Linked DNA regions of Homo sapiens: region 2 is linked to region 1. Evidence: promoter capture Hi-C in human tissues and cell types (Jung and others, 2019). All regions are on one chromosome and are shown on one strand. Each heading gives the region's core, a stretch centred on a gene start or on the middle of the fragment in contact. The rest is flanking DNA. Distances are from core to core; before and after follow the strand shown. Region 1 holds the start of ADAM15 (ADAM metallopeptidase domain 15). Region 2 has its middle 29 kb from the start of PMVK.

What was found. Contacts are between HindIII fragments. The study calls those that stand out against the background at their distance.
Region 2: a contact is called between a fragment that was not itself captured here and the fragment with the promoter of ADAM15 in region 1, in 1 of the 25 tissues and cell types used here (spleen).

The regions. Positions count from the first base shown.
Region 1 is chr1:155,048,859-155,052,753 of GRCh38, reverse strand. ADAM15 (ADAM metallopeptidase domain 15) reads right to left here and starts at 1,438. Exons shown (of 23, transcript NM_207197.3): 1 at 1,289-1,438; 2 at 1-83. The coding sequence starts at 1,367. It overlaps DCST1 (DC-STAMP domain containing 1), which reads right to left. Exons shown (of 17, transcript NM_152494.4): 17 at 1,824-2,137. The coding sequence ends at 1,886. It overlaps DCST1-AS1 (DCST1 antisense RNA 1), which reads left to right. Exons shown (of 4, transcript NR_040773.1): 2 at 3,393-3,485. It overlaps ADAM15-EFNA4 (ADAM15-EFNA4 readthrough), which reads right to left and starts at 1,438. Exons shown (of 26, transcript NR_176418.1): 1 at 1,289-1,438; 2 at 1-83. RefSeq lists a silencer at 1,274-1,733 and an enhancer at 2,204-2,263. The HindIII fragment of the contact is 8,680 bases long and covers 1-3,895 here.
Region 2 is chr1:154,905,699-154,909,427 of GRCh38, reverse strand. No RefSeq gene overlaps it. Among named protein-coding and RNA genes, the nearest start is that of PMVK, 29 kb to the left of the region's middle. The HindIII fragment of the contact is 9,328 bases long and covers 1-3,729 here.

The DNA.
Region 1 (3,895 bases), core at 189-2,688:
TGGGAGATCGTCCTGAAGGACCTGGGGCTCCAAGGGCTCCCTCGGGGCCTTCTCTGACTCTGCCTGCTGCTCCTCAGTGCCACCTGCAGGTCCCAGGACACCCCAAGACAGTACTGAGGGAATCGACAGCAGGGCTGGGGGTGACAGGTGCCCTCAGATCCACCAGCTCCCAGCCCATCAAGACCCTTAGGTACCTGAGGGGCTTCCACATTGCATGCTGAGACTTAAAGAAGAATACTGGAAGGAGAGGGTGTCTCTCTAATTTATGGCTTTCCACCCACCAACCCATTCACAAGTCCCCAAGAAAGACTTTCGGCTTGCGCAGCCTGTGGCCCTCCTTGTCCCCTTCCGGCCAATCCCAGGTTCTCACAGGACCCTCCCCGGTTCCCACTCCCTCCCAATCACTCTCCCCCCACTTCAGGAACGCCCCCTCTCGAGACTGAGCTAAGCCTTGTGGCCGGGTGCCCGCTCACCCTCCCCTTCGCTCACATCGGAGATGCCAGGAACGCCCATTTCTGGGTGAGCAGTGCAAACACCCCCACCTCCCTAAACACCCTCATGCCCAGTCAGGCACACCCGCTGCCTACAGCCTCTGCTTCCTCCTCGAGCACCCCCCACCCCCCCAACACACAATGGCCCTCTCTCCTCCGGACACTCCACCCGCGCCTGCCCTCTCGGTCCCGGCCCAAGACAGCAGCGGGAAGTGAAAGTTCCAAGGAGGAGTTGGTGTCCCAGCCTCTTTCCTGGCCAATTCTCCCTTCTCCTGGCTCATCTCGGGCCCCTCCCGCTCGGCCAGGCACTGGTGGCAACAGCACCAGGGTGAGGAGTGCCTGGCGGCCCCAGGCCTGGAATAGAGGCTAGAGAGAATCCTCTTCACTAAACCCTACAAGCCATGCCCGCTCAGCGCCCTGGCACCGGGTCGAACGGTTAGCTAGGCCCCAGAGCAGCGAAGATGCCAGTCCTGGGGAGCAGCGACCCTCTCATCACGATCTTGAAGTGGCGCTGGACAGGCCCCTCGGTACCTGGTACCTGAGCCTGAAAGTGTCCGCAGGGACCGCGCAGAGGATGACCAGGCAGGAGGCAGGGGGCGCCGGCATCCCCCCTCCTTCTCTTTTCACCCCATCGCCAAGTCACCGGGCCCTAGGCCCAGGACAGCGGACCAGGGCGGGCCGCGCTCTGGCTGGGCTCTCCCAGGGTCTCCGTCCGGCCCCATTACCCTAATGCCTTCCGACTTTCCTGCACCTCCCTCCCAGTCCGCCCCCCGACCCACTCCAGGCGGAGGACTCACCTATATTTGGGAGCGGCCAGGAAGGCAGAGGGCTGCCCGCGCCCAGGAGCCCCAGGGCCCAGAGCAGCGCCAGCCGCATGGCAGCGGCGCTCCGGGCCGGGCGAGGGCAGCAAGTGCGGAACAGCGCGCGGAGGAGCGGCCGGCGGCCAGGTCGCCTCGGAGAACCCAGCAGCGCCGCGCGGCCACCAGGCCCCGCCCCGGCCCGCCCCCTCCCACCCGGCCCCAAGCCAAGCTCCGCCCCCGGCAAAGCCCGCCCCGCTGCGCGCCGGGTGCCTCGGGAGCGGGGACACCGCCCACTACGCCCGCGCTGCTCAGCGCTACCGCTTCCCCGCAACTGTGCGGAGTGGGAGCCGGTGCCCGGTCCGACCGGCTTGGGCGGCGCGCCTTCACCCGGCGCCAGGTCCGGACCCCTCCCTAGTAGCTTCGCGGCCTCCCTGCCTCCTGTGCGCGGCCTGGCTCGGAGAGGTCGGGCGGGCAGGCTTTCCCGACTGCAGGCGAGGCAGTGCGCGGCTCACCCCAGTCCCCGACCCACGTGAAGCGTACAGGGCATTTTATTAACCGGGAAGGACGGTGCGGAAGAGCGAGCAGGACGCCTCTTCACCCCGCGTAGGCAGTGTCGTCGTTGCTGTCACTAAAGGCGGAGGAAGAGAGCTCTTCGCGGGGCGTGCAGACCGGGCACCGCTGCCGCATGTCGTCCCAGCACGACCAGCAGTACACGGCCTCGCAGTCCAGCGTCCGGCACACGTAGGACTCGGGCGTCTCGGGTGCCTGGCACACCACGCAGCGCCGGCACAGCCAGCGGCGCAGGAGCGGGCAGCCGCGGTGCAGGATATCCGCCAGCGGGTGGCGCTGTTGGGAGGTGGGCGTTAGCGCCAGCCCGGGAGCGAGGCGGGAAAGAAGGGGAACTGGACAGCGTTTCCTGTCTGAAGTCGCCAGGCCTGACAATTCCCGCGTGTTGGAGGAGGCTGGGTTGGACAAAGGAAACCCCTGGAGGGCGAGGGTGCCTCCCTCCCCAACTCTGTGATGGAGAATGGGAGGATGCACCCTCCAGGCTCTCTCCAAGCGGATATCAGCCACAACTCTCATTTGCACTTTCCTGTAAATCATCTTATTTGGTTCTCACAGTGAGGCTGAGAAGTGAGCAGGCCAGATCGACTATCACTGTTGCTATCCCCACTTTACAGTTGAGAAAGGTGAAGTGACTCTCAAAGTCACACAGATAGTAAACAATCCAACTTGGCTGGACCCCAGGGGCCCTGATTCCAAACCACAAACCTAGTTCACTATGCTCCCTGCCATCCCTCACGACATGTCTCTACACAGTTGTCAGGGATTTTCCACAGGCCACCTTACCCAGGAAGCAGCCACTCTTTGCCCAAGAAACTCCAGAGGCCCTGCTGCCTGCCAGACAGGCAGAACTCTTGGGCTTGGCCTTCAGAGCCTTCCCTCACCTGGTCCCTTTCTAGCCTCTTTCCTACTTTAGCCCTCCCTGAGAGCTGTCTCTTCTGAGCCAGTTTCTCCTGAGACTAGCCCTGGCACTTCGCATTCCCTGTGGACTGAGTCTTTGCACATTCTGCTTGGAATGACTGTCTGGCACATTTCCATCTGTGCATTCACATTCAGTTTGCTTCACGACCCTGTCAAGGAATCCCAGCATGTTCTTTTTTGTTTTTTGTTTTTCATTTTTTCACAACACATTCATTTGGCCCCTATTGTGTGTCATGGGGGCTGGGGGTATCCAGGCCCTAGGGAAAAAGCTAAGCAAACACAGTCTCACTTTTATGAACTTTGTTAGGACTGATTAAATAAGAATGGCTGCCACTCATTGTTTATAATGTCAGGTCCTGTACTAAGATACTGTACATAAATTATTTCAATTCTAAATTAGCCGGGCGTGGTAGTGTGTGCCTGTAATCCCAGCTACTCGGGAAGCTGAGGCACGAGAATCGCTTGAACTGGGGAGGTGGAGGTTGCAGTGAGCCAAGATCACGCCACTGCACTCCAGCCTGGGCGACAGAGTGAGACTTAGTCTCAAAAAAAAAAAAAAATTCAATTCAATTGTCATGTAAGGCAGATAGTGTTATTATCATCTCCTTTTTTTCAGGTGAGAAAACTGATGCTTGGAGATGTGATCACTGCCCAGGGTCACCCAATGATAACATGCATGCATATGGAACTTGCTGCATGCCAGCACCATGTAAGTACAACTCATTTAATCCTTAAAACAACCAGATGGAGTAGTTAACCCCATTTTATGGAAGGCAAAAGCCCAGGCACAGCAGTTAAGTCATGTGCTCAAGGTCACACCGTTGTCATAGTAATGAGGGAAGGAGCCGGGATACACACTTAGGCCCTCTGGCACCGGAGTCCCACACCTGACCACCACTCTAGGCTGATCTCCAGTGAGCAGGCCTTACAGATCTCTCCAGTCTTGCCATTCTTCAGAGGGAGAAACTGAGGCTCAGTGAAGACCTTGGCCAAGGTGACACAACTTAATGAGGGAGTATGGACTGGAGTCTGCTTCCTCAGATTCCATGTGCCTTACCATGTGCCCCTGCATGAGGCCTTCCTGACTCCCAGCCCACCTGCCTCCTCCTGTCCCTTGAA
Region 2 (3,729 bases), core at 755-3,254, 140 kb after region 1:
CTATGTAACTGTCCTCCCTGCAACCCTCTGAGCTCTCTGGTCCCTCTTACTGATGCAACTCCTAGCATTTCTCATGTGGCCGGTGGGCAGTAAATGTTGAAAAAGTGAATAAGAGAGTGAATCCACCACTGGTCAGGAGGCCATAATTAGGACCATGAAAGAGCCTGGGCTCTGGGGCACATGGATCCATTAGCTCAGGTCCCAGACACACAGTGGTGGTGTGGCCACATTGATGTTGTCTCTTTTCCAGGCATCAGGAAGCTGAGCAGGTGATGAAAGCCAGAGCGGCTGAGCCCTAGCCTGTGTCCCCGCCTTATCTCCTCAACCCCATTCTCCTCCTCCCATCCCTTCCTCCTGCCTCGGTGGTGAGTCTTTCCGTGCTTAGCTGCTCACTAGTGCCCACCCCCATCTATGGCCCTGCCACATTAACTAGCCCCTCTCTCTCATGTTTTCCAATTTCTCCATCCTCGCCTGTCCTGAAACAGCTTTCCTTCTGCTGACCCCTCCAGTATCATCTCAGTTATTTTGTCCCCTTTACTCCTGAACACTTTGCAATTTGACCTCTGCTCCTGTCTCTACTGAAACTGCTTCTTGAAGGTCACCCACCACTGACAGCGTCTTTAGTTCTCCCTCATGACCAGTCTGCATCAGCCGACCAACTCACCCACTCCACTCCCTCTCTCTTGAATTCACTTTTTTGGTTCTCCTGCCTTTCTGCTCCTGCCTTTTCTATTTCTGACTCCTCCTCTTGTTGGGGTGATCAGACCCAACACCAGGTCGTAGGGGTGACAAAATCCGGCAAATTCAAAGGATTGAGAAAAAGAGTTTGAGAGAGAAAGGTGGGATCAGGGGGCCATCGCGATTGTGGAGGCTGCAAAGGCCCTGAGCTCTGGGACCCTGTGGTATTTATTAGTAATCCAACAAAGAAACAGGTGGTGAGAATGTGGAGGTCAAAAGGGCAGGCACATGATCTATAGCTGTGATGGTTTAGCATTTATAAGGAACATTTTCTGCTACTTGAGATAGTGAGAGTAGGTTCTTTTAACTCAAGATACAATTGATCCTGGGAGAGCAAGGAGCCAGCAAGTCTAGACACATTCCAGAGCCATGAGCCCTGGATTCTATCCAAGTCACGAGGGATTTTATGCCCTGGGCTTAGATTATGGTGCGTCAGGGTAGCCTTCCACCCTTTAGCACAGAGCTTGGTGTTCCAAAGGCCACAAGGGGTTTTAGACCCTGGACCCCGGACATGTTCCAAGACTCTTTTACATTGTGTCAGACATGCAAACCCTGCCTCAGCTTCTCCTAACACTCAGCTTTTCCCAACATCCTCTCTTCTTGTCCTAGAAATACAGGTGTTCCTCAGGCCCTGCCTTCTGTTCTCTCTTTTGCCTCCTTCCTTGGTGAGATCACCTTAATATGGATGACTCTGGAGTTTTCCTGTCTTTACATGGGCGTCCTATGCGCTGTATTCGGAGTGGCTTCATGTTGGCTCTTGAAGCGTGCTTCTTCCGTAACGGGCTCCCTTCCATCACTCACACTGGAACAGGGTACCTGGCCGAGACCCAACCTTCAGATTTTTGAAGACTTGGTAAACTGAAAAGGGAAAAACTGCTATGGAAAAGTTGCAAGGAATTTTTATATTTAGAGGTGGTGAGATCAATTCCCTTTAGGATCAGGGAGTCTCTTCGTTTCAGAAAAATTGCCCAAAGGAGCCCTTTCATTACGCACATATGAAGTAAGCACTTACCCAGTGCTTGGGCAGAATGCAGTCCCAGGATACCTGAGTGCACTAGCTTTGATCCATCATTCTGTTTGGCAACATCATCTCTTGTGCGTAACTGAGCCGGAGCTCTGCCTCTGAGCCATTCTTACTTTTTTTTTTTTTTTTTTTTGGGACAGAGTTTGCCCAGGCTGGAGTGCAGTGGCACGATCTTGGCTCACTGCAATCTCCACCTCCTGGGTTCGAGCGATTCTCCTGCCTCAGCCTCCTGAGTAGCTGGGATTACCATGTGCCACCAAGCCTGGCTAATTTTTTTGTGTTTTTTAGAGATGGGGTTTCCCCATGTTGGCCAGGCTGGTCTCAAACTCCTGTCCTCAAGTGATCTGTCCACTTTGGCCTCCCAAAGTGCTGAGATTATAAGCGTGAGCCACCATGCCCGGCCCATCCTCACTTTTGGGGAGTTGGGGGAAGGAAAACTATTTCTTGAATCTGTAGGAATTTAGAGGACGCTGAGCTGCAGACTGCTGTTTGTCTTGTGGGATTGAGTGTTCTTGTAGGCCAGTGGTTTGTGGGGTGTCCAGAGCTGAGGTGACAAGAACTGCTGGTAGGACCCATGGATGTGATGCGCTCATACTTTGTCTTGGAGGACAGACTAAAGCCAGAGCTGTCTGGACCCAGTGCAGTAGCGCCTGAATGGGATGGGCCGCAGGTGGCCTGTTTGTGGTCATGTTGTCTGTCTCCCACTGGACTGTAGGCAGCATGAGGGCAAGCACCATGCTTCTCCAGTGTCTAGCTCACACAGCACCTGGCCAATCCCTGCCGATTGAATGAAAGATGAATGAATATTGTGGGCTGCTGTACTTGGGGCCATAGAGCAAGAGCACCCTCTCTTGGTAGGGCTGGGGTTTCTCCGGAAGGATCCATAATCCTGGGAAAAGAATGCTCTTCAATGGGAAAGGTGGGCTGTCCCTGGCTACTGGGGAACCTCTTTATTTCCTCTGTGGGCTGGCTGGGAGCTCATCGTGGTGGTGGGCCTGGGGCCCTGAGAGTAGCGCCATCTCTAGTAGCTGGAGCTGTTTCTCCTCGGCCTTGTGCTTTCCTTCCGTGATCCTTAGTAAGAGTCTGAGGTGTGGCCTATGGAACTGCCCCTCACATTTGTGGGGCTGGAACAAGAGGCCTACATACTAGATGTCTAAACATTCAAAAATTATAAATAAGCCAGGCTCACGCCTGTACTCTTACCTACTAGGAAGGCTGAGGTGGGAGGGTTGCTTGAGCCTAGGTGTTTGAGTTCAGCCTGAAGAACATAGTGAGACCCTGTCTCAAAAAAAAAAAGTTATAAATAAAACTAACAAACTGTTAAATAAATAAAATGTGGCTGGGCGCAGTGGCTCACGCCTGTAATCCCAGCACTTTGGGAGGCCGAGGCAGGTGGATCACCTGAGATCAGGAGTTCGAGACCAGCCCGGCCAACATAGTAAAACCCCATCTTTACTGAAAGTACAAAAATTAGCTGGGCGTGGTGGCTCATGCCTGTAATCCCAGCTACTCGGGAGGCTGAGGCAGGAGAATCACTTGAACCGGGGAGGTAGAGGTTTGCAGTGAACCAAGATTGCAACACTGCAGTCCAGTCTGGGCAACAAAGTGAGACTCTGTCTCAAAAAAAAAAAAAAAAAAAAAAATATATATATATATATATATATATATATTCACATATATATTCATATGTTCATATATATGTATATATATTCTAACCTCCTACTTTGACAAATATACCTTTATAATGACAAAGCTGAAAAATATGTAACTCAAAGTTGCCAACATATCAAAATTGATTGAATTTAATTATTGTTGTATATGTCTAGATGTTCTATTAATGTGCCAGAGATGATTGCATAAGTAATGAAGGTAAATGTCACTTATAAATTATTCTATTTTTCCATAACGTTTATTTTTCTTGCCTTTATTTTAGAAAATCACAAATTATATTAATTTGATGAAGATCT